6 separate regions of the Homo sapiens genome follow, and regions 1, 2, 3, 4 and 5 are each linked to region 6. Evidence: promoter capture Hi-C in human tissues and cell types (Jung and others, 2019). All regions are on one chromosome and are shown on one strand. The core of a region is centred on a gene start or on the middle of the fragment in contact, and the rest is flanking DNA. Distances in the headings are between cores, read along the strand shown. Region 1 overlaps TCF20 (transcription factor 20). Region 2 has its middle 32 kb from the start of WBP2NL. Region 3 overlaps SEPTIN3 (septin 3). Region 4 has its middle 16 kb from the start of NAGA. Region 5 overlaps WBP2NL (WBP2 N-terminal like). Region 6 holds the start of MEI1 (meiotic double-stranded break formation protein 1).

Evidence for each region. The method cuts DNA at HindIII sites, captures the fragments that hold promoters and counts their contacts. A contact is called where the count stands out against the background at its distance.
Region 1: a contact is called between a fragment that was not itself captured here and the fragment with the promoter of MEI1 in region 6, in 3 of the 25 tissues and cell types used here (dorsolateral prefrontal cortex, mesenchymal stem cells and mesendoderm cells).
Region 2: a fragment that was not itself captured here is called in contact with the fragment with the promoter of MEI1 in region 6 in 2 of the 25 tissues and cell types used here (dorsolateral prefrontal cortex and mesenchymal stem cells).
Region 3: a fragment that was not itself captured here is called in contact with the fragment with the promoter of MEI1 in region 6 in 1 of the 25 tissues and cell types used here (dorsolateral prefrontal cortex).
Region 4: a fragment that was not itself captured here is called in contact with the fragment with the promoter of MEI1 in region 6 in 2 of the 25 tissues and cell types used here (mesenchymal stem cells and mesendoderm cells).
Region 5: a contact is called between a fragment that was not itself captured here and the fragment with the promoter of MEI1 in region 6, in 1 of the 25 tissues and cell types used here (dorsolateral prefrontal cortex).

Annotation. Positions count from the first base shown.
Region 1 is chr22:42,191,260-42,195,031 of GRCh38, forward strand. The region is part of intron 2 of TCF20 (transcription factor 20); the gene reads right to left. Among named protein-coding and RNA genes, the nearest start is that of CYP2D6, 62 kb to the left of the region's middle. The HindIII fragment of the contact is 3,881 bases long and covers 1-3,772 here.
Region 2 is chr22:42,028,601-42,032,402 of GRCh38, forward strand. It overlaps a transcript of WBP2NL not described here. Among named protein-coding and RNA genes, the nearest start is that of WBP2NL, 32 kb to the left of the region's middle. The HindIII fragment of the contact is 3,748 bases long and covers 152-3,802 here.
Region 3 is chr22:41,984,754-41,989,093 of GRCh38, forward strand. SEPTIN3 (septin 3) reads left to right here. Exons shown (of 12, transcript NM_001363845.2): 4 at 1,231-1,359; 5 at 2,453-2,534; 6 at 2,869-3,006. Among named protein-coding and RNA genes, the nearest start is that of WBP2NL, 12 kb to the right of the region's middle. The HindIII fragment of the contact is 7,491 bases long and covers 1-4,340 here.
Region 4 is chr22:42,052,893-42,057,017 of GRCh38, forward strand. It overlaps a transcript of WBP2NL not described here. Among named protein-coding and RNA genes, the nearest start is that of NAGA, 16 kb to the right of the region's middle. The HindIII fragment of the contact is 5,927 bases long and covers 1-4,125 here.
Region 5 is chr22:42,007,934-42,011,757 of GRCh38, forward strand. All of the region lies in intron 1 of WBP2NL (WBP2 N-terminal like), which reads left to right. Among named protein-coding and RNA genes, the nearest start is that of WBP2NL, 11 kb to the left of the region's middle. The HindIII fragment of the contact is 3,157 bases long and covers 305-3,461 here.
Region 6 is chr22:41,696,856-41,700,851 of GRCh38, forward strand. It overlaps MEI1 (meiotic double-stranded break formation protein 1), which reads left to right and starts at 2,648. Exons shown (of 31, transcript NM_152513.4): 1 at 2,648-2,857. The coding sequence starts at 2,684. It also overlaps the pseudogene C22orf46P. RefSeq lists enhancers at 1-17, 28-407 and a silencer at 2,621-2,720. The HindIII fragment of the contact is 9,130 bases long and covers 1,536-3,996 here.

The sequences.
Region 1 (3,772 bases), core at 633-3,132, 490 kb after region 6:
AACTTGCCTTTTTTTCTGAAACACAGTTTGCATTTTATTATTATTTTTTAGATGGAGTCTCACTCTGTTGCCCAGGCTGGAGTACAGTGACGAGATCTTGGCTCACTGAAACCTCTACCTCCCGGGTTCAAGTGATGCTCCTGCCTTAGCCTCTAAAGTAGCTGGATTACAGGCACCCACCATCACGTCCAGCTAACTTTTGTATTTTTAGTAGAGACGGGGTTTCACCATATTGGCCAGGCTGGTCTCGAACTCCTGACCTAAGGTGATCCACCCTCCTCGGCCTCCCAAAGTGCGGGGATTACAGGCATGAGCCACTGCACCCAGCCTGCATTTTATCTTATCTACAGTTATATATACTCCATTAAAATAATCCTAATCAGAGGGTTTCTTTTATAGCCCCAAAAGAAAATTGCCACTGTGCTGAAAACCTTATATATTTTGTCTAACGGAGTTTTTCCTATGTTAAAAGGAGCTTGTGCCCTTTAAGAAATTAGAAAGGAAGGGCACAGAGTGCTAGAGTCCAGGACTAGGTATAAGCCATTGATTAGCACTTTTCCTCTGAATAAAAGCAGAGAACCTGAGAAAAGGCTGAACCCAGCAGGAGTAGGAGACCTGCGGCAGCCCTGTGATGAAGAAAGAGAAGAGCTTTTTCTCAAGTACAGGGAGAGAAATACTTACATAGTTTGAAACACTGAAATTGAAGTTGCACAAGGTCTTGCACTAGCTTATTTTTATTTTACCCTTTGCTCAAACAGTGGATTAGCTTATAAAGAGAAATGATTACATTTTGTGCTTTCTGAATCTAAAAAGGCATCTTTTTAAAGAAATTACACTCCAGGGAAGTGACTCTTGGTGTAAGCTGCTTCTCTCCATGGCTCATCCTACCCAGGAGTTGGGTCTGTGCTTCCAGAAAGCCAATTACTGGAAGCTGCTTATTCACAAGGCACCCATACTGAAATGTTTACAGTTTCAGTGCAGAAACGACAAACCTGCTGCCACAATAGGACTCCCTTAACAAGATTTCAAATCTGTGAAGATCATACTGAAGCGGAAATCTCCAAAGCTGTTCCAAACACTTGGCTCTGGAGGTCTTTCTCATTTTTACTCCTTTCTTCCTACTTGCATTCATATTACCTTCCTCTTTCGCACCCGGAGCCACTGCCATCTCACCAACGCTCTCGCCTGTCCATCTTCTCAAACAGGTTGAGGTATTGTCAGGCAAAGCCACCCTATTCCTGGAAGTGGCAAGTTTTTCAAAGGCAGGGGCAGCCTGACAGGACAGACACTGGAGGCTCAGGAAATAGCAGAGTCCCAGCAGAAAGGAACTTTCAAAAACGAGGATATCTTGATATACTGAAGCTAATGCCAATGAAACTACCACAGGATCACTGGTCCTCAAATCCTAAGCCAGCCCCTGCCACCTCTCAGCCAAGCTTCAGTGGGGTCATTTAATTTGGCAACAACATGAGACATAGTCTCACATCTCATTTCAGGTCACTCCCACAGGTCATGCTCAAACCGGGGCCTTTTCTTCCTGGAAACCTACTGGAAGGAAAAACTACGTCCACACTAGAATGGAAACTTTGGCACCCAAATCTGTGACTAGCTTATGAACCTTCAGTTTTCAGAATTGATTTTTGCATTTCTCAAAGGGTAACTCTGCCACCTGCACCAGCATGGTCCTAAGCTTGAGTTAAAAAACACAGACTGAGGACACTGTCCCAGAAGAGACTGAATGGGAAGCATCCCAGGTTCTTATCCTCAAGAAAGTTTTAGAACTATTGGTTCAATTCATCTTCATAGATATGGAAATTTTCTTCTACATTTCTGTTTCAGAAGATTCCTACCAGATTAGGAAGATACTCAGCAAGAGTACAATCCTCATTTCAACAGAAAAGGAAAAAGGAAAAAAAGAAAAGGAAACTCCAAGAGTCTCCATGAAGAAAATAGAGATCTGGAAGTAATATAACCAAGTTTAGAAATCCTGCATAATTCCTCAATACATCTCCTCCTCCTCCACCTACACTTTTTTTTTTTTTTGAGATAGGGTCTCGCTCTGTCACTCATTCATCAAGCCAAAGAGTTTGAGGTTGCAGTGAGCTTTGATTGTGCCACTGTACTCATAGTGGAACAATCAGAGCTCACTGCAACCTCAAATTCCTGGGCTAGAGGAATCCTCTTGCCTCTACTTCCTTAGTAGCTGGGACCACAGGTGCATACCACTGCACTTGGCTGATTTATTTTTTGTAGAGATGGCATCTCACTTTGTTGCCCAAGCTGGTCTCAAACTCCTGGGCTTAGGCAATCCTCCTACCTCAGCCTCCTGAAGTGATGGGATTACAGATGTGAGCCACCATGCCCAGGCCCAAGATTTAAGTGTCTATTGTTAGGACAGATTTCATTTATCCAACACCTTGACAAGGCAGTCCAGTTATTAACTCCATTTTACAGGTTAAGAAATTCAGCTTAGGGGCTAAGTGATGTTATAGTTTCCCAAGAAGCCAACTCCTACAGATGTCTGGATGAAGGATAAAATATGACCTAAAAGATTCTATAATTATGACTCTTTGCCAACAAAGACCGTCCAGTAAATTCAAGAGCCTCTGTGCTCTCCTTTGGGCCTTGTCTCTGGGCAGTGTGGTGGTCGTATAATAAAAGGTGGTTCTATCACATGACTTTTCTTTCAAGAGTGAGATTAGAAAAAAGCAACAAGTAGAGGATGGGACTGGTCAGATTATTGAAATTGTCTGAAAATACACCAATGACTAAGGGATTTCAGAGTTCCCAAGTCAAATTAAGGAGCTAAAGGCAACAACTGGGTGTTTGCTGGTGGTTTCAGAGCTCCTTGGGGGTCCGTGGGAAAAGTGAGTCTTTATGTGGCTGGATCATTTCCTGGGGTTCTCTACAGCTAATTTGGAAGATCTTAAACAGAGAATCTTCTGGAGCTGAGCAACAAGATTTTTTGTTGGCATATTCACCTTAAATGGAGCTTTTTTCCAAAGGTGGGAAGGGATGAGGTAGGTCTGAGAGAACAGAATGCTGGGTCAGCAAGTTAGTGAGATTCCATTATTGGGAGATGATTTGCTTCAATGAAGAACGGTTTCTGTGGCACTGCTAAAACCCTCGCCCTGCCAGGAGGCGAAACTAAAACATTAGTAGTTGATACAGATACTATCAACAACCCCGGCCGCCTTGCACAATGTTCCTCAGGTCTCTACCAGGGATGCTTAACGCTTATCCCTGTCCTGATGTACCCTAGTGAAGGAACAAGTTGTCACTTGGCCCACAGTGAGAGGGCTAAATACTAATGACTCTGCTTCTGCCTGGGAGAGTGTGGGGTGGGGGCGGGGGTAGCGGTAGATGGTGTTACTGAGAAAGCCAGGCAAAGTGGTTGTTCAGAGCAGAGAACTAAGAGAGTGCTCTTGGTGGACTGTGAGTTTCACAGGGCATGGTGGAGGAGACTGGCAAAGCAGCAGAGTGTGGTTCTTGACATGTGCCTATTTCCCCTGCCACTCACGCTTCAAACCCCCCAAGTCACTCTAGTAGTGGCAGGTCCAAGTGCCACATGGGGAGGGCAGGCCTCTGAGGCCTTACTGACTCAGCCCTCCCTTTGGCCGAGTTAGGTGTAGCTTCTCCACACTTACACAGACCTCACAGTATCCATAGACCATGCCTCCCAGCACTTACACAAGTGCTCACTGAACATAAGGTGGGGCTGCTTTTACCTGCTAAAAACTATCCACTGGAAATTCCTTCATTCTGAAATGGT
Region 2 (3,802 bases), core at 776-3,275, 330 kb after region 6:
TGAATATGTTGCTTTGGTGACTTGAATACCATTGCTATTGGCAATATTGTTCTCCAAAATGGTGAACAACCTTTGAAAATTTTCCAAATAAAACAAAGTTTAGTCTTCCCTTGATTTACACAGTGGTTGAATTCCTGAAAATTTCTGTATATATTAAAGTCATATAAAACAGAGTTAGGCTGTAGGCTCAAATGATTATAAACATGCTTCACCTACATCACTGGCTGGAGAGCCATTTGAAAGTCAGGAGACATAGGACAATTAAGGTACTGCCCTGTACGTTTCAGGATGTCTTGCATCTTCGACTCCTCACCCATTAAGTGCCAATAATGGCCTCCAATTGGGATAACCAAAAATGCTCCCACTTATTTCCTAATTGCTCCCTGGGGGGCAGTACCATCCCTGCTGAGGACCACTATTCTAGACTGTTTCAAGGCTTTCAGCCCCTTCAGAGCTCACCATTCTCCCACTCTGGCAAGGCAGGCAAAGTTCTTAATTTCATTGGCCTTTCCTTATCTTATTGTAGGCTCATCAAGCCACCTAAAAGGGAGGCCTTAAAAATACATTAGTAGCCAGGTGTGGTGGCACATGCCTGTAATCCCAGCACTTTGCACTTTGATAGGATAAGGTGGGAGAATCACTTGAGGCCAGTTCAAGACCAGCTTGGGCAATATAGCGAGACCCTGTGTCTAGGAAAAAAAAAAAAAAAAAAAAAAAGCCAGGTGTTGTGGTGTGCACTTGACCCAGAAGACATTTAAATCAATATATTTTCTATGCATTTTTTTTTTTGAGACAGAGTCTTGCTTTATCACCCAGGCTGGAGTGCAGTGGCACAATCTTGGCTCACTGCAACCTCCACCTCCCAGGTTCAGGCAATTCTCGTGCCTCAACCTCCTGAGTAGCTGGGATTACAGGCAGGTAAAACCATGCCCAGCTAATTTTTTTTATTTTTATAGAGATGGGGTCTGGCCATGTTGGCCATGCTGGTCTTGAACTCCTGGCCTCAAGCAATCCTCCTGTCTCAGCCTCCTGAAGTGCTGGGATTACAGGCATGAGCCACTGCGCCTGGCCTTCTATGCATATTTCTTATATGTAGTTGAAATCATGCTATATAATGTTTCACCAGATATTTTACATTTTCATAGGTTTTGAAGAAATGCTTGTAAATATTGTTAGTGACCACATAATATTCTGTGACACAGTTACACCATAACGTATTTTCTCAGTCCCTCTTTTAAGGTATTTGAATTGTTTCCAGGTTTTTGTTATTACAACTTCATGATTAACTTCTTTGTATATGGAGCTTTTTAAAAGTTTTAAATGCTTTCCTTAACACAGCTTAGAGTCATTGATTGATCTGCATTGTGAAAATTAGGAAACCAGATGCTCCCATGTTCTCAAGGACAGCCTTTCTTAAGGAAGTCAGGTAGATATTAATGGGTTTTATGTGAAATGGAGTAACTGGGTTAAATATAATTGAAAAAGACAAGAAAACTGGTTTCTTTACTACTTCTTAGAGCCTTGACTATACTAATGGACATAATCTCCAAGAAGGAGAGATTTTCAAAATTTACAGTTTTTTCAAAATTATTTGATTTTAGAATATTCAGTAAACATTTTGTTCAGTGGAAGAAACTGAGAAACACTTTCTGGAATTATGGGATATTAGAATTAGAATGGACTTCAGGTATCTGGAGTATGCTAGACCTTAAAGCTCTTTCCAAAAATGAAGACAAGTCAAAAGACCATTCTTCCTTCCATTCCAAATAAAAGAGCTTTATATCCAATTTACAGAAAGCAGGGTGGGACATCTTGAAGATAAAATATATAGAAAGTAGCTGCTGCTTCCTCTCAGAAATTACTGGGATAGAGTTATGGGTCTAGGAAGCTGGAATGTCAAAACACAGGGACAGCCACTTTGCCCAGGCAACTGGCATGAAGGGAAGAAGTGAAAAGGGAAAGTGTGGCTGTAAACCTCTCTAAAGTTTCCAAACAGGGAATCCAGGCAATATTGGATCTTAAACATGGGTCATAGGATCTGGCGCTTTTATCCCTAAAATTTTTGGAGGAAAATAACGAGATATTTTAAGTTTCTTCTTTTCTTACTTCCAAACTACAGTACGTGGGCAACAGTGATGAGAGGAAGAGAGGAGAGACTCAACCAACTAGAGCAGGGATAAGGTTTCCCTTGTTCAGCTTTTCAGTGTCTGCTGGAATGTGATGGTAAGTTGAGAACAGGGTGAATGGGTGAGGCCTTTTTTATATCAGAAAGTTTTCCGAGTAACTGATCTCTGGCAAATATTTGGGGATTAGAATTCTAAAAGAATACAAACTAGACTTCTCTTCTGCTCTTCATGTTAGTTATACTTGTACCAGGTAGATTTGAGGTGGGGTCCAGTTACCTGAAAAGCGTAGCAGGTTCGAGTTTCTTAAAGGTGGAATTCCACCATGTTCTCCTGTGCAAAGGGTACCTGTTTACCTGGTCCACCAAACTGCCCCAGTACAACCAAAGGCTGTGACTGTGTAAGGATAGAACCAAGTGGAGCCACAGTTTGGACCCACGTGGTGCTGCGTGGCACACCTACTGTTAGTTAGCTCCCACTGTCTGGTACAGTTGTTTCCCCCAAAGGCTCAGTCCAATTTGTTCTATAAGAAGAGCTTTGTGTCCTGTATATTCAAAGGACCCTGGTTTTTGCTTTGCTGAGGACAAATCCAGTCAGAATTCAGCTGAGCCTTCTGCATGCTGAGAGCACTCATGTGCTGAGTTCCTCAGCTCCTCACTGACGTTTTGAGTACTTTCTTTCTGACTCACTCACTGTGCTGGTGGATTCCGCTCTTCCTGTCTCTTCCCCAGCTGCAATACAGAAACTATACTCTGTTGTCTACTCTTTCATTTCCTATTAGAAATATAAAGGGATAGAAATAAGAAGACCTTTTAGTCCTGGACTATCTGGTATTGGCCCCTAAAATGAGCCTCCAAATACTCCTTTTCATGGGTAAGTGGATGCTCCCCAGCCTGCTGGAGCAGAACCTTCCTGGCTCAGCTACCCTGAGATATCAGGACAAAAACATATAGTTGGTGTGATTTTCCTCTTTTTGTTTTTTTTTTTTTCAAGATAGAATCTGGCTCTGTCCCCCAGGCTGGAGTGCAGTGGCGCGATCTCGGCTCACTGCAACCTTTGCCCCACAGGTTTAAGCGATTCTCCTGCTTCAGCCTCCTGAATAGCTTGGATGACAGGTGCCTGCCACCATGCTCGGCTAATTTTTGTGTTTTTAGTGGAGACAGGGTTTCACCATGTTGGCCAGGCTGGTTTCGAACTCCTGACCTCAAGTGATCCACCCGCCTCGGCCTCCCAAAGTGCTGGGATTACAGGCATCGGCCTGTGCCTGGCCGATTTTTCAATCCATAGATTAATATGTTCAAGAAATATTGCATGTCTTTGTTTTCTGTAAATTTATTTCTGTTACCAAGATCCCCACCACCATCTGCTTTGTTGGTGGGCTTCTCACAAATCCTAAGATTATGCAAAGGTATCCAGATTTTATTTGGCACCAAGATGCTGAGAAGTTTCTTCTGGTCATCAGACTGCTTCTGAAACAGCCACTATCCAGTCCTGGCAGTCCCGTCAAGTCTAAAAGCTTGTTGCCTTGGGACCCCAGAATCTTAGGTAGGGCTTAGAACCAGGGTGTCAGAGATCCAACTCTGTGTACCATATTGCTCCTTAGAACTGGGGAGTAGGACCCCAAAGGCCTCCTTATCCTTGAGAGTCTGACAATTCCTTAAACTTCCAGATTCTGCCCT
Region 3 (4,340 bases), core at 184-2,683, 290 kb after region 6:
CCTGGCCTCAAGTGATCTGCCCGCCTTGGCCTTCCAAAGTGCTGGGATTACAGGCATGAGCCACTGCACCTGGCCTGACCAGTGGTTTTCCCTTTTTTTTTTTTTTTTTTTTTTTTTGAGACGGAGTCTCGCTCTGTCGCCCAGGCTGGAGCGCAGTGGCGCGATCTCAGCTCACTGCAAGCTCTGCCTCCCAGGTTCATGCCATTCTCCTGCCTCAGCCTCCTGAGTAGCTGGGACTACAGGCGCCTGCCACCACGCCGGGCTAATTTTTTGTATTTTTTTTAGAAGAGACGGTGTTTCACCGTGTTAGCCAGGATGGACTCGATCTCCTCCTGACCTCATGATCCGCCTGTCTCGGCCTCCCAAAGTGCTGGGATTACAGGTGTGAGCCACGGCAAACGGCCTGACCAGTGGTTTTCAAATGTTCTTTAGCTGTGAAACTTTTCCTTGAAATGAAATCTTCTGCAGATATGCATCTGGAAAACAGGTGAAAGGGAGCCATAGCGAAGGAAGTGGATGCAGGGGCCCTGCCTGCCCAGCCTCCTCCTCCTCTCACAGTGCCCTCTCTGGCATGTATCTTCACAGGACACTAAGGCTTCTGGGAGCACAATCTAAAAACCACTACACTAGAAGAAAGAGTGGATATAGAGCCAAGATGTTATTAGGGTTTGAGTTCCTGGTCTTGCATGTATTAGTTATGTTGCTCTGCACATATTTTGTTAGAAGAGGATTCATCTCTCTAGGACCATCTCAACTGAGGATAAAGATAGTTCTGCTTCAGGATCCACAGGGCTGATATAAAAATGAATTTGGCTAACAAATGTGAATGTACAATATGCACTGTGAGGCAGTATCAGGATGCAAAGTCATTCTATTTTTCCTTTTAGTATCATTAAAAAGTGAAAACCTAAGCAAAAAATGGAATCACGAGAAAACAGAAAACCACGACACTAGACATATGCAGAGGTTGTCCCTTTTCCCAGTGGTCCTGTGGCTCTGGGAAGGAGAGAATATGGAATCCAAGTGATGTTTCCCCAAGGCCCTCTGCAGTAAGCAGGAAGCCATTCCCACCTGCCTGCAATCCCCACTCAGCCTGGCCATCCCCCAGTGAGTGGTCAGACAAGGTGTGGCCTGGATCATGGCTCTAGAATTCTGTAAGCTTATGGAGAAATATTAGGCTCAGGAGGTGGATGCAGAGTCTCCCTACCTCCTCCTCCTGCTTTGCTGTAGGCCAGAGTGGACTGGGCAAATCAACGCTGGTCAACACGCTCTTCAAATCCCAAGTGAGCCGCAAGGCCTCCAGCTGGAACCGGGAGGAGAAGATCCCCAAGACAGTGGAGATCAAAGCTATCGGGCATGGTGAGGACCAGGCAGGGACCCCTATGGGCTTTGTTCAGTGAGTGCCTCTGCTGGAAAGGGGAAAGAATGGGGCTTATTGAAGAATAAGATCAATAAAAGGCAACCTTAAGACAAAACAGACGTGAGCACTTCACTCTGAAGCAAACTCCTTAGACTGCAGGTTCAGGGAAGAGAGAGCAGGGAGCTCGAATGGAAGGAGGTGAGATTTGAGGTGGATGATAAAGTACAGGATTTAGACAGGTAGAAAGAGGTAAGGAGTGGGCAGGTACGGTGGCTCATGCCTGTAATCCCAGCACTTCGGGAGGCCAAAGTGGGAGGATCGCTTGAGTCATGGAGTTCGAGACCATCTTGGTCAACACAGTGAAACCCTGTCTCTTTTTTTGTTTGTTTGTTGTTTGTTTTTTTGAGACGGAGTCTTGCTTTGTCGCCCAGGCTGGAGTGCAGTGGTGCGATCTCGGCTCACTGCAAGCTCCACCTCCCGGGTTCACGCCATTCTCCTGCCTCAGCCTCCTGAGTAGCTGGGACTACAGGCACCCGCCACCACGCCCGGCTAATTTTTTTTGTATTTTTAGTAGAGATGGGGTTTCACTGTGTTAGCCAGGATGGTCTTGATCTCCTGAGCTCGTGATCCGCCTGCCTTGGCCTCCCAAACTGCTGGGATAACAGGCGTGAGCAACCACGCCCGGCCCGAAACCCTGTCTCTTAAAAAAAAAATTAGCTGGGTATGATGGTGCATATCTGTAGTCCTAGCTATTGGGGAGGCTGAGGCGACAGCATCACTTGAGCTGGGGAGTTCGAGGCTACAGTGAGCTGTGATTGCACCACTGCACTCTAGCCTGGGTGACAGAGTGAGACCCTGTCTCTTAAAAAAAATAAAAGAAGAAGAAAAAGAAATGAGTAGAGAGGGTATTCCAGATTCCAGGTACAGGGAACAGCATAAGCCATGATATCGAGATGGAAAAGACCCTAAATTTGACTTTTCCAATAACTGATCCTGAAGACAAGGCCTGGGTCTCCCTGGCTAGTAGGCTGCCAGGTACCTGGGGTCAGCTGTAGGACTGACCTCTCTGGTACATTTTCTTTTCACCCCCAGTGATAGAGGAAGGCGGTGTCAAAATGAAGCTGACCGTCATCGACACCCCAGGCTTTGGAGACCAAATCAACAATGAAAACTGGTATCTGTCTGCCTCTGAGATCTTTGCCCTAAAGACTCTGCTGGGAAGATACTTACTATGGTGCAGATTCATTCACGTTGAGAACCATCTGCACCCTCCATGCTCTGTAGTTCCCGACAGCCCAGGCCAGGGCCCCTGGGGAGCTCCACCCCTGCTAACTAACCATCCAGGAAAGCCATCGGTGCGGGGGCTGAGGGGGAATCTGGCAGCAGGTATCCTAGGCCCACCAACCAGGGAATGACATGAATGTAAGGAGATTGCTACCAGATCATGCCTAAGCTGAGCCCTAGGTCTTGTTCTTCTGATGCATCTATCTACTTTCCCTCCCCATCAGCTGGGAGCCCATTGAGAAGTACATCAATGAGCAGTACGAGAAGTTCCTGAAGGAGGAGGTCAACATCGCCAGGAAGAAACGCATCCCTGACACTCGTGTCCACTGCTGCCTTTACTTCATCTCTCCCACAGGACACTCGTATGTACCAACCCTACCCCTATTGTCAGGCCTGGTCTGGTTTGTATCATCTGTGCCCATCTGGATTGGATGATCCATACGTTGACTCAGCTAGGCCTCCCTAGCTGAGTCCTAGCCCTTCCAGCCAGATGGGTTGGTACATAGTCATGGCCCATGACCTTGGGATTCCCTAGACTTTCCACGAGGAAGTTTGACTTTCTTGCTAGGAGGTTAAAGCTGTCCAACATCAGCCACCAATATCTGCCCACTGGTGTCCCAGCAGCATGGCACAACTGTATCAGCAAAGAGGACTTGGTGAATGTGAGCAGAGGGCACTTCATTTATTCACCAAATACCTGCTTTGGAAAATAATTGGAGTCGGAGGGAGCAGCAAGAAGGGTGAAATAGGGCAGTGCAGGGCTCCTGGATTGGGGCTGGTGTTTGGAGGGTAGGGACCCAGTTGTAGGCATTTAGAAGGTACCAGCCTGGAGTGAGGCATTGTGTGTTCAGAGATGAAGGCCAACCATTGTCATGAAGTACTATCTGATAGGCAGAATAAGACACACACAAGCATGTTGGGAACTCTGATTGTGAGTGACAGGTGGGCCCCATGAAGGAAGTGCTGGGAACAGGCAGAGGATGGAGATCCTAGGGGGCAGGCCAGAAACCTTCCTGCAGAGACCGGGGGAGGGGGGTCCCATAACATTACTAAGCCCAGCTGCTGGGCCAGAGTTAAGCTCTTCAGAGGATGGCACAAGCAAGGTAAGCCCCAAATTTTCTAGGAACCAGGCAGTGATGGTAGGGGGAGAAGAGAGATGAAACAAGACCCCTGGGCTAGACCCAGGAACTCAACAGAAGGCTGGTTTTATCCCTCCCTAGGCTTCGACCCCCTGGTCAGAATGAACCATCAGACAGACTGACTTAGTGAGTCCCTGAGATTGCAAAATAGAGCCAAGTTGGGGTCTCAGAGCCTGAGGTAGGATGGGGGCATAGACTGTCAGATTGTGGGAAGGGCAAGGCCTCCAGTTTGGCCCTGCAGGACTAACTCTGGGGGCTAGGAGGAGACCTGTCAAGAAGTAGTCTGATAGGCAGAACAAGATGTACACACTAGGCACGGTGGCTCTCGCCTATAATCCCAGCACTTTGGGAAGCCGAGGCAGGAAGATTGCTTGAGTCCAGGAGTTCAAGACCAGCGTGGGCAACATGGCAAGACATTGTCTCTACACAAAATTTAAAAATTAGCCAGACATGGTAGTGCGCAACTGTGGTCCCAGCTCCTCTGGAGGCTGAGGTGGGAGGATTGCTTGAGCCCTGGAGGTCAAGGCTGCAGTGAGCCAATGACCATATCACTGCAC
Region 4 (4,125 bases), core at 1,171-3,670, 360 kb after region 6:
ATGTGTTATTTGTACAGAAAGATAGGCAACCGTAAGTACTGTAATTCCAGAACATCTTCATTACCTAAAAAGAAACCCCATAACCATTAGCAATCACTTCTCATTTCCTCTTCCCTCCATCCCTTGGCAACCATTTATCTACTTTTTGTCTCTGTAGGTTTGCCTATTCCAGACATTTCTTATAAATGGAATAATACAATGCATGTACTTTTGTGTCTGGCTTTCACTTAGCATAAAGTTTTCAAGGTTCAACCGTGTTGTGGCATGTGTCACTATGGATATACTGTGTGGATTGCATGGATATAACACATTTTGTTTATCCATTCATCAGTTGATAGACGTTTGAGTTGTTTATACTTTTTGGCTATTATGAATAATGCTATGAACATTCACATACAAGTCTTTGTGTAGGCATATTTTTAAATTTCTCTTAGGCATTTACCTAAGAGTGAATTGCTGGATCATATGGTAACTCTGTTTAACATTTTGAGGAACTGCCAGGCAGGTTTCTACAGTGACTGATGACTAACAATGTAACATGGGCATCTTTTTTTTTCCTCTTTTTCTTTTTCTTTTTCTTTTTTTTTTAAGACCAGAGTCACTCTCACCCAGGCTGGAGTGCAGTGGCGCGATCTCAGCTCACCACAACCTCCACCTCCCAGGTTCAAGCAGTTCTCCTGCCTCAGCCTCATAAGTAGCTGGGACTACAGGTGCATGCCACCATGCCTGGCTAATTTTTGTATTTTTAGTAGAGACAGGGTTTTACTATGTTGGCCAGGCTGGTCTCGAACTCCTGACCTCATGATCCACCTGCCTCGGCCTCCCAAAGTGCTGGAATTACAGGCATGAGCCACCACACCTGGCCAATGTTGGGCATCTTTTCATGAGCTTATTAGCCATTTGTATAACTCTTTGGAGATATGTCTATTCAAATTCTTTGTCTATTTTTAATTAAGTCATTTGTCTTTTTATTAAGTTGTATATATCTGGATACTAGACCCTAGTTGGAGTATATGATTTACAAATGCTGCATCCCATCCTGCGAGTTGTCTTTTAACTTTGTTTATTTTTTATTTAAAAAAAAATGAGACAAGGTCTTACTATGTTGCTCAGGCTCTTGAACTCCTGGCCTCAAGTGATCCTCCCATCCCAGCCTCCCAGTGTGCTGGGATTACAAGTGTATGCGACTGTGCGGGGCCTCTTTTAATTTTCTGGATAGTATACTTTGACACAGAAAAGTTTTGAATTTTGATCAAGTCCAACTTATCTATTTTTTTTGATTGCTTCTGATTTAAAAAAAAAATTTTTTTTTTGAGACAGAGTCTCACACTGTCACCCAGGCTAGAGTGCAGTGGCACGATCACTGAAACCTCCACCTCTCAGGTTCAAGCAATTCTCCTGCTTTAGCCTCCTGAGCAGCTGGGATTACAGGCGCATGGCACCATGCCCAGGTAATTTTTTTTTTTTTTTGTATTTTTAGTAGAGATAGGGTTTCACCTTATTGGCCAGGCTGGTCTCAAACTCCTGACCTCAGGTGATCCACCTGCCTTGGCCTCCCAAAGTGCTGGGATTATAAGCATGACCCACCGTACCCAGCCTGTTTCTGATTTTAGTGTCCTATCTAAGAAACTGTGGCATAATCTAAAGTCACTAAGATTTATACTTATGTTTTATTCTAAGAGTTTTATAGTTTTCAGTCTTACATTTAGGTCTTTTAACCATTTTGAGTTACATTCATTTTTTTTTACATGTGGATATCTAGTTGTCCCAGTGCCATTTATTTAAAATACTATTTTCTAATTGAAGGGTCTTAGTACCTTTGTAAAAAAAAAAAAAAAATCAATTAACTGGCTGGATGCAGTGGTTCATGCCTCTGATTCCAGTGCTTTGGGAGGCCAAGGTGGGAGGTTCGCCTGAACCCAGGGGTTTAAGCCTGCACTGAGCTATGTCACACTAGTACACGCCAGCCTGGGCAACAGAGTGAGACCTGGTGTCTAAAAAAGAAAAAAAATCAATTAGCTATAGATGTATGGGTTTATTTCTGGACTCTCAACTGTATGTCTATTGTTATACCAGTACCACACTGTTTTTATTACTGTAGCTTTTTGGTAGATACTGAAATTGAAAGTGTGTGTCCTCTTTTTCTTTCTTTTCTTTTTTTTCTTGAGATGGAGTTTTGCTCTGTCACCCAGGCTGGAGTGCAATGGTGTGATCTCAGCTCACTGCAACCTCTGCCTCCTGAGTTCAAATGATTCTCCTGCATCAACAGGCACCCACCACCATGCCCAGCTAATTTTTTTTTGAGACTGAGTCTCGCTCTGTCGCCCAGGCTGGAGTGCAGTGGCGCGATCTTGGCTCACTACAACCTCCGCCTCAGGGTTCAAGCGATTTTCCGCCTCAGCCTCCAGAGTAGCTGGGATTACAGGCGCCTGCCACCAAGCCTGGCTAATTTTTGTATTTTTAGTAGAGATGGGGTTTCACCATGTTGGTCAGGCTGATCTGGAACTCCCGACCTCAGGTGATCTGCCCGACTTGGCCTCCCAAAGTGCTGGGATTACAGGTGTGAGCCACCGTGCCTGGCAATTTCAGTCTTTTACAATTTAGTGATACTTATTTTATGGCCTAACATATGGTCTGTCCTAGAGAATGTTTCATTTGTACTGAGAAGAATGTATATTCTGCTGCTATTGGGTGGAATGTTCTGTAAATGTCTGTTAGGTCTAATTGGTTTATAATTAGTATTGGTAATATAATTGGTAACATTTATTGTTGAATTATCTATTTCTGTATTCAATTGTGTCTGGTTTTGCTTTATATATTTGGACTCGTTAGGTATGCTAATGTGTAAAATTATATCTTTTTTGGTGGATTGATCTTCTCAATTTTATAAAATCTTTTGGATCTAGTAACAATTTTTGTCTTAAAGTCTTTTTCTGATATTAACATAGACCCTCCCCCCAACCCTAGTACTTTTGCTACCATTTGCTTGGTGTATCTTTTTCTGTCCTTTTACTTCCAACTTATGTCTTTGAGTCTAAAGTGTCTCTTAAACAAAGCACATTTTTGGATTGTGTGTGCACTTGGGTGTGTATCTTTTAAATGCATTCTGTCGATCTATGTTTAATCCATTTACATGTAATTATTGATAAGGTTTATACATTTGTCATTTTACTATTTGTGTGTTATGTCTTAAGTCTCTTTTGTTCCACATTTCTTCCATTACTGCCTTTTTTGTGTTAGACATTTTATTTTGTACCATTTTATCTCTATCATATATTTACTAGATTTTTAAAGTTTTTTTGTGGTTGCCATAGGGATTACCATTAACATCTTATTCTGAACTATCTCATTCTGATTAATACTAATTCATGCCACTTGTATACAAAAATTTTGCTTCTTATATAGCTGTTCCCCTCCTCCTTTATGCTGTTATTGTTACAAATGACATCTTTATACATAGTCTACCCATCTTAGTTTATAATTACTGCATTTAAGTTACCTTTTAAATCAGATGGGGACAAAAAATGAGTTACAAACCAAAATCATTTATATTTACTTATGTAGTTCCATTTACTGGTGCTCTTTATTTCTCCATGTGGATTCAAGTTACTAGTTTCCTTCCATTTTGGCCTGAAGGATGTCCTTTAGTATTTTATGTAGGGCAGGGTGGCTAGAGATGAACTCTGTTTTTGTTTATCTGGGAATGTTTTCATGTTGCCTTCATTTTTGAAAGATAGTTTGGCCAAATAACAAATTTTTTCATAGTCTTTTTCTTTCAACACTTTGAATATGTCAACCCACTGCCTTTTTTTTCATTTTTAATTTTTGTGGCTGCATAGTAGGTGTATATATTTATGGAGTACATGAGATGTTTTGATACAGGCATTGCATTCCTGTAATAATCACATCATGGAAAATGGGGTATCTAGTGCCTCAAGCATTTATCCTTTGTGACAAACAATCCAATTATACTTAGTTATTTTTAAATGTACCCATTGCCTTCTTGTTTCCATGGTTTCTGATGAGAAGTCAGTTGTAAATCTTATTGAGACTCCCTTGTGTGATGAGTTGCTTTTATCTTGCCTCTTTCAAAATTCTGTCTTTTGAGGGTTTGATTATGATATG
Region 5 (3,824 bases), core at 633-3,132, 310 kb after region 6:
CTTGTACGGTAGTTCTATTTTTAATTTTTTTTGAGGAGCCTCCGGACTGTTTTCCATAGCAGCTACTCATTTTACATTTCTAGCAACAGTGCACAAGAGTTCCGGTTTCTCCACATCCTCACCAACACTTGTTTTTCTTCTCTTCTCTTCTCCTCTTCCTTTCCTTTCCTTTCCTTTCCTTTCCTTTGCTTTCCTTTCCTTTCCTTTCCTTTCCTTTCCTTTCCTTTCCTTTCCTTTCTCCCTCCCTTCCCTCTCCCTCCCCCTCCCCCTCTCCTCCCCTCCCTTCCCTTTTTTTGACAGAGTCTCACTCTGTCACTCAGGCTGTAGTGTAGCAGCAGGATCTTGGCTCATTGCAGCCTTAGCTTCCGGGGTTCAAGTGATTCACATGCCCTCAGCCTCCTGAGTAGCCAGGATTACAAGCATATGCCACTACACCCAGTTTTTTGTATTTTTAGTAGAGACGGGGTTTCGCTGTGTTGGCCAGGCTGGTCTCAAACTCTTAGCATCAAGTGATCCACTCACCTTGGCCTCCCAAAGTGCTGGGATTACAGGCATGAGCCACCATGCCTGGACCTGTTGGTTTTTTAAATATTAACCATCCTAATGGGTATAAAGTGATGTCTCATTGTGGTTTTGATTTGTATTTCTCTGATGATTAGTAATGACAATCTTTTTATATGCTCATTGGCCATTTGTGTATTATTGCTCTTGTTGCCCAGGCTGGAGTGCAATGGTGCGATCTCAGCTCACTGCAACCTCTGCCTCCCAGGTTCAAGTGATTCTCCTGCCTCAGCCTCCTGAGTAGCTGGGATTACAGGTGCCCACCACCACACCTGGCTAATTTTTTTTATTATTTTTTTTCTAAGATGGAGTCTCGCTCTGTTGCCCAGGCTGGAGTGCAGTGGCACGATCTTGGCTGACTGCAAGCTCCGCCTCCCAGGTTCACACCATTCTCCTGCCTCAGCCTCCTGAGTAGCTGGGACTACAGGTGTCCACCACCACGCCCGGCTAATTTTTTCTATTTTTTAGTAGAGACGGGGTTTCACCGTGTTAGCCAGGATGGTCTCGATCTCCTGATCTTGTGATCCACCCGCCTCAGCCTCCCAAAGTGCTGGGATTACAGGCGTGAGCCACTGGGCCTGGCCAATTTTTTTGTATTTTTAGTAGAGACAGGGTTTCACCATGTTGGGCTGGCTGGTCTTGAACTACTGACCTCAGTTGATCCACCCACCTTGGCCTTGTGCTGGGATTACAGGGAGCTCTTTACATACTCTAGATATTAAGCCCTTATCATAAATACAATTTGAAATATTTTCTCCCATTCCATAGGTTGCTGTTTCATTCTGGTGATTGTGTCCTTTGATACACAATTTTTAAGTTTGATATAGTCCAATTTATTTATTTGTTCTTTTGTTGCCGGTGCTTTTGTTTTTTTATCCAAGAAGTCATTGACAAGTCCAATGTCACGAAGATTTTCAGTATGTTTTTTTCTAGGAGTTTTATAGTTTTGGGTCTTATGTTTAAGTCTTTAATCCATTTTGAGTTAATTTTTGCATACTATGTAAGATAAAGGTATGACTTCATTCTTTTGCATGTGGATATCCAGTTTTCTAAAAGGACATCATTTGTTAAATAGATTGTCTTTTCCTCACTGAGTCATCTTAGTACCTTTGTTGAAGATTATTTGATCAATTCTCACATATATGTGAAGATTTGTTTCTATTCTAGTCCATTGGTTTGTTTATCTTTAATGCCAGTATCATGCTGTTTTGGTTACTGTAGCTTTGTAATATACTTTGAAATCAGGAAGTGTGAATCCTCTTTGTTCTTCTTTTTAAAAATTATTTGGCTTTTTGGGGTCCCTTGAGATTCTATATGAATTTTATGATGTCGCTTTCTGTTTGTGCAAAAAGTGTTGTTGAGATTTGGTAGGGATTGTGTTGAATCTCTGAATCACTTGAGTAGCCTGGACGTCTTAGCCTTATTAAGTTTTCAAATCCATGAACATGGGATATCTTTCCATTTATTTATGTCTTCAATATTTTTCACTAATGTTTTATAGTTTTCAGTGTACAAACCTTTCACCTCCTTGGTGAGGTTTATTCCTAAGTATTTTATTCTTTTTGATGCTATTGTAAATGGAATTATTTCCTTAATCTCCTTTTTGGATCATTCATAATTAGTGTATAGAAATGCAACTATATTTGTGGGTTGATTTTATATGCTGCTACTTTACTGAATTCACTTATTTTGACAGCTTTTTGGTGGACTCTTTAAGTTTATTTACATATAAGATCACGCCATCTGTGAACGGAGTTAATTTTACTTCTTCCTTCCAAATTTGAATACCATTTATTTATTTATTTTATTTTTTGCCTAATTGCTCTGGCTAGGACTTCCAATACTATGTCGAATAGAAGTGGTGAAAGCAGGCATCCTTGCCTTGTTTCTAATCTTAGAGGGGAAGCTTTCAGTCTTTTGCCATTCAGTATGCTGTTAGCTGCAGGCTTTTCATATATGGCTTTTATTATGTTGAGGTAGCTTCCTTCTACTTTTAGTTTGTTGAGTGTTTTTATCATGAAAATATATTGAACCTTTTCTTTTCTTTTTTTTCTTTTTTTTTGAGACGGAGTCTCGCTCTGTTGCCCAGGCTGGAGTGCAGTGGCGCAATCTCGGCTCACTGCCAGCTCTGCCTCCAAGGTTCACGCCATTCTCCTGCCTCAGCCTCCTGAGTAGCTGGGACTACAGGCGCCCACCACCACACCCGGCTAATTTTTTGTATTTTTAGTAGAGATGGGGTTTCACCGTGTTAGCCAGGATGATCTCGATCTCCTGACCTCGTGATCCGCCCGCCTTGGCCTCCCAAAGAGCTGGGATTACAGGCGTGAGCCACCACGCCTGGCCAAAAATATACTGAATCTTTTCATATGCTTTTTCTGCATCGATTGTGATGATCGCATGGTTTTTTCCCTTCATTTTGTTCATATGGTGTGTTACATTGATTCATTTTCCTATGCTGAACCATCCTTGCATTCTAGGAGTAAACCCCATTTGGTCATAGTGTATAGTCCTTTTAATGTGCTGCTGAATTTGGTTTGCTAGTATTTTGTTGAGGATTTTTTACATCAATATTCATCAGAGATACTGACCTGCAATTTTATTTTATTGTAGTTTCTTTGTCTGGCTTCGGTATCAGGGTAATGCTGGCCTCATAAAGTAAGCCTAGAAGTGTTTCTTCCTCTTTAATTTTGGGGAAGAGTTTCAGAAAGATTAGTTAATTCTTTAAACGTTTTGTATAATAGAATTTGTTGAGAGGTTTTTTTTTCTCTTTTTGAGACAGGTTCTCACTCTGTCACCCTGTCTGGAGTGCAGTGATGTGACATGATCACAGCTTACTGCTGCCTCAATCTCCGAGGCTCAAGTGATCCTCCCACCTCAGCCTCCCGAGTAGCTGGGACTACAGATGTGTGCCACCACACCCAACTTTTTTTTTATATATTTTGTAGAGATGAGGTTTTCAAGTTGCCTAGGCTGGTCGGAAACTCCTGGCCTCGAGCAATCCTCCTGTCTCAGCCTCCCAAAGTGCTGGGATTAAAGGCATGAGCCACCACACCTAGCTGAGAGGTTTTTGGTTACTGATTCAATTTCCTTACTAGTTAATTGGTCTGTTTATATTTTATGTTTGTTCATGATTCAGTGTGGTAGGTTGTGTTTTTCTAGGGATTTATCCATTTCTTCTAGGTTATCCAACTTGACATACAATTGTCCTTGGTTTTCTCTTTAATCCTTGTAACTCCTTGGCATCAGTTTTTTTTTTGGTTGTT
Region 6 (3,996 bases), core at 1,398-3,897:
CCTCCCACCGCCCTCACTGTCCTGCCCAAGGGGACAGGCCTCAAGAAGAGCAAACGACTGCTCCTGGAGTCCCTCATGCGGAGGAGGATTGCACACCTGAAGTGGGGTCTTCCCCGGCGGATCCTGGAGTCCTATTTCCTGTTTAACTTCTTAGGATCTTGCTCATTGACCCTTGCTGGGGCGAGGCTCTCTGGACTGAACACAGGCCAGGAGCTCCAAGCCCAGCAGGAAAGGTATTGTGAGGCCCAAGGCTCCCCACCAGGCCTTAAGTCCCCAGAGAGGTTCCAGAGGGTTCAGCGCCCAGACAGAAAAAGCTCGAAACTTCCTATACAAGCCAGAGCTCTGGAGAGGAACAGACCGCACATGTCAGAGCCCATTAAGCATTTCCATCCAGCCTGAAAAGGCCAGGAGAGTCAGGCCACCAGGGGGCGCCAGAGAACCACAGGAGATCCAGGAAGCGCTTGCTAGGACCAAGCTCCCAGCTCCCAGGACCCCCAGGCCGGCAGCGGAGTCCAGGAGCTGGTGTGGCCCACAAAGGGTCGGAGAGCCTCCCAGTGAGAACAGTAGGGGCAGGAAAATGATCAGGTCAAGGGTCTCCCAGCTGGCAGAGAGGGCTCCCAGCAGAGTGAGGACTTCATTCTCTAGGGCAGACCACGCCCACTGGAGGAAGGAATGTACATCCTGGGAGGCCTCTAAGCTCCCCAGACTCAAATGCCAGCAGCTCACATACTGGAGAAGAGGAAGCCTGGAATCTACAGGGTGCAGAGGGGCTGGGCAGCAGCCTTCCTGCCATTCTGCAGAACCTGTCAGCTTCAAAGGGAGGCTCCACTCTGCGGTGGCAAAGCTGGGCCTGACCCTTCTGGCCAAGATGTCCTGGTCCCCACAGCTCGCCAAGCGCAAGCACTTGGCCCCTAACCTGAGCCTGAGGGAACCTGATTCTACTCTGCCTCCCAAAGTGGGTGATCCTCGTGCAGGGGAGGACAGCATCGGAGATCACACTGCTTCACAGAGGGATCTTCAGCTGCAAGGTCACTGCTGTACTGGGGCCACCCTTCCTAAGACAGAGAGTCCCCAGGGCCAGGAGGCACCTGGGAACCCAAATGGGGCTCCACAGAATACACGAGCCTCCAAAAAGTTTAGTATTATGAAGCATCTGAATTTTTTTCTCTTCCAGAATGGCTTTAAAAAGTAGACTCAGGCCCAGAGTCCTCAGGACATATCAGAAAAGCTTTGAGAGTGTCCTGATCCCTGCAAAGCCTCTAATAAATTGGTCATTTGGGCCCTGTGGTGTTCTGATTTCTCTGGCACATTTTCCAAGTGCCCCCTTTCGGGGTTTGGGATACTTTGTGGGTGGGGTAGAAGCCCCTTCCACTCTGTGGTTGTGGTTTAGGGAATGTGGGTCAACCCAGTGTCCTCTCCGAAACACCTGCCCCCCAGCTCCTCACAGTGGAGTCCACTGAGGTTCTATCCTGCTCTGTCTCCAAGCTAATCCTGATTGAGGCAGGACACTCCAAAAGCCTCAGCTGCTTATGGGGAGGGGTGGTCCTCTGCATGGGACGCTTTTTTTTTTTTTTTTGAGATGGAGTGTAGGTCTGTGGCCCAAGCTGGAGTTCAGTGGCTTGATCTCCGCTCACTGTAACCTCCGCCTCCTGGGTTCAAGCGATTCTGCTGCCTCAGCCTCCCGAGTAGCTGGGATTACAGTCATGAGCCACCACACCCAGCTAATTTTTGTATTTTTAGTAGAGGAGGGGTTTCGCCCTGTTGCTCAGGCTGGTCTTGAACTTCTTTCTCTCTGTCTTTGGTGTTTTGTTTTGTTTTTTTACTTTTATTTTTTGGTCTTAAGCTTCTGATTTATTTATTTATTTTTAAGATGGAGTCTTCCTCTGTCACCCAGGCTGGAGTGCAGTGGTGCGATCTTGGCTCACTGCAACCTCCACCTCCCAGGTTCAAGTGATTCTCCTGCCTCAGCCTCCCTCCCAAAGTGCTGTGATTACAGGCATGAGCCAACTCACCCAGCCTCTAATTGCTTTTAGATGCGAATCCTTGGGATCGCTTATTTTCCTTTTTTTTTTTTTTTTTGAGATAGAGTCTTGCTCTGTCGCCAGGCTGGAGTGCAGTGGCACAATCTCAGCTCACTGCAACCTCCGCCTCCCAGGTTCAAGTGATTCCCCTGCCTCAAGCCTCCCAAGTAGCTGGGATTACAGGCACTTGCCACCACACCCAGCTAATTTTTTGTATTTTAGTAGAGACGGGGTTTCACCATGTTGGGTAAGATGGTCTTGATCTCCAGATCTCGTGATCCGCCCACCTCGGCTTCCCAAAGTGCTGGGATTACAGGCGTGAGCCACCATGCCCGGCCTTCATTTTTAAAAAACAGTAGAAATAGCTTCCTTTCCTTCCTTTTTCAAGGCAAATGCCCCCTACTTTATAATTGCTTTTCAACTTTGGATGTGGTAAAGACATTCCTGCAGGGTTCTAAGCACAAACCGCTTTTGGCTTAGCTAGACACGATCCAGAGCACTTGCGTCCACCACTTGCCCTCAGTGGCTGCTGCTCGTCTGAGACTGCAGCGCCCTGGGTCCGCGCAGGCGCATTCCACACCGACGCAGGTCCGTCCTCCAAGTGCGCATGCGTGCAGTCTGCGCGGGAAAGAGTGCCGCCTCAGCTGAGGGCAAGCGAGGAGATGGCTGTGAGGCAGGCGGCGACGGCGGGCACTCCCGGGCCCAGGAGAGAGGAAGAGGCGGCGCTTCTATTCGAGAGGGCCCATTACCGGCACGACCCGCGCTGGCTGCTGCCCGTGACCCCCCGCCTGTGCCTGGCCTGCGCGCTGGAGCTGCTGCCGGACCCCGGCGTGTCGGTGCGGGCGGAACCTTTTCTTCAGAAGACCTGGGTTTGGCCATTTCCCTCAGCAAACGCGGCCAGGCCCTTGCCAGACCCGCTCCGGTGAACCCGACGCGAAACCGGGCCCCCGCGCTGTGTTCACTCTCCTCCCTGTCAGCCCGTCCCGGACCCGGCCGCAGCGGCCTCTCGGGCCCCTCAGCCCCAGGCCGGCCTGCGGGCCTCCGTGGAGCCCGGTCCACTGGCTCTGCGCCTGAAAGGACGGAAATCCGGATCCCCCGGGACCTCACCCAGTCTCAGGGACACACCTTCCCGCCTTCCGCCTTCTGGCTCCTTCCCTTTGCTGCCCCTGCCTCCATTTCCCGGGGATTCGGCCTTAGCTCAGGCTCCCGCCATTTCAGCCTCCCGCCATTTCAGCCTCCACTCACCTGCGGGCCAGGGGCGCATGCGGCGGCCGCTCCTCATTCCCTTCAGCTGTCGGGGTGTGAATCGGAGGAGGGGCAGTCTGGGCTCCGAGGGGACAGGAGTGACAGGTTACAGCCGGGCAGAAGTGGGGGTGAACGGGAAGACTGTTCCTTGGGCAGAGCTGGCCAAAGCGGGCTGCCTGGGTCCTCATTGCCTACCGCGTTTGCAATGAAGTGGTTTTGTTTGTTTCGAGACGGAGTCTCGCTCTGACACCCAGGCCGGAGTGCAATGGCGCCATCTCCGCTCACTGCAACCTCTGTTTCCTGGGTTCAAGCGATTCTCCTGCCTCAACCTACCCAGTAGCTGGGATTACAGGCTCCCGCCACCACGCTCGGCTAATTTCTCTATTTTTAGTAGAGACGGAGTTTCATCATGTTGGCCAGGCTGGTCTCGAACTCTTGACCTCAGGTGATCCACCCGCCTCGGCTTCCCATAGTGCTGGGATTATAGGCGTGAGCCACGGTGCCCGACCTGCAGTGAGTTTTCTTGTCCATGGAGGCATCCAAGAAGACTTTGGGAGGTCAAGTTTCTCTCCAATTCATGGGAGGGGAATTCGTGAGTGGGTGGATTGGCTAGATCAGCAGTTCTCAATTTTTTTTTTTTTTTTTTTTTTTTTTGTAGAAACGGTCCCGGGGGTCTCCCTGTGTTGCCCAGGCTGGTCTTGAACTCCTAGTCTCAAGCAATTCTCCTGCC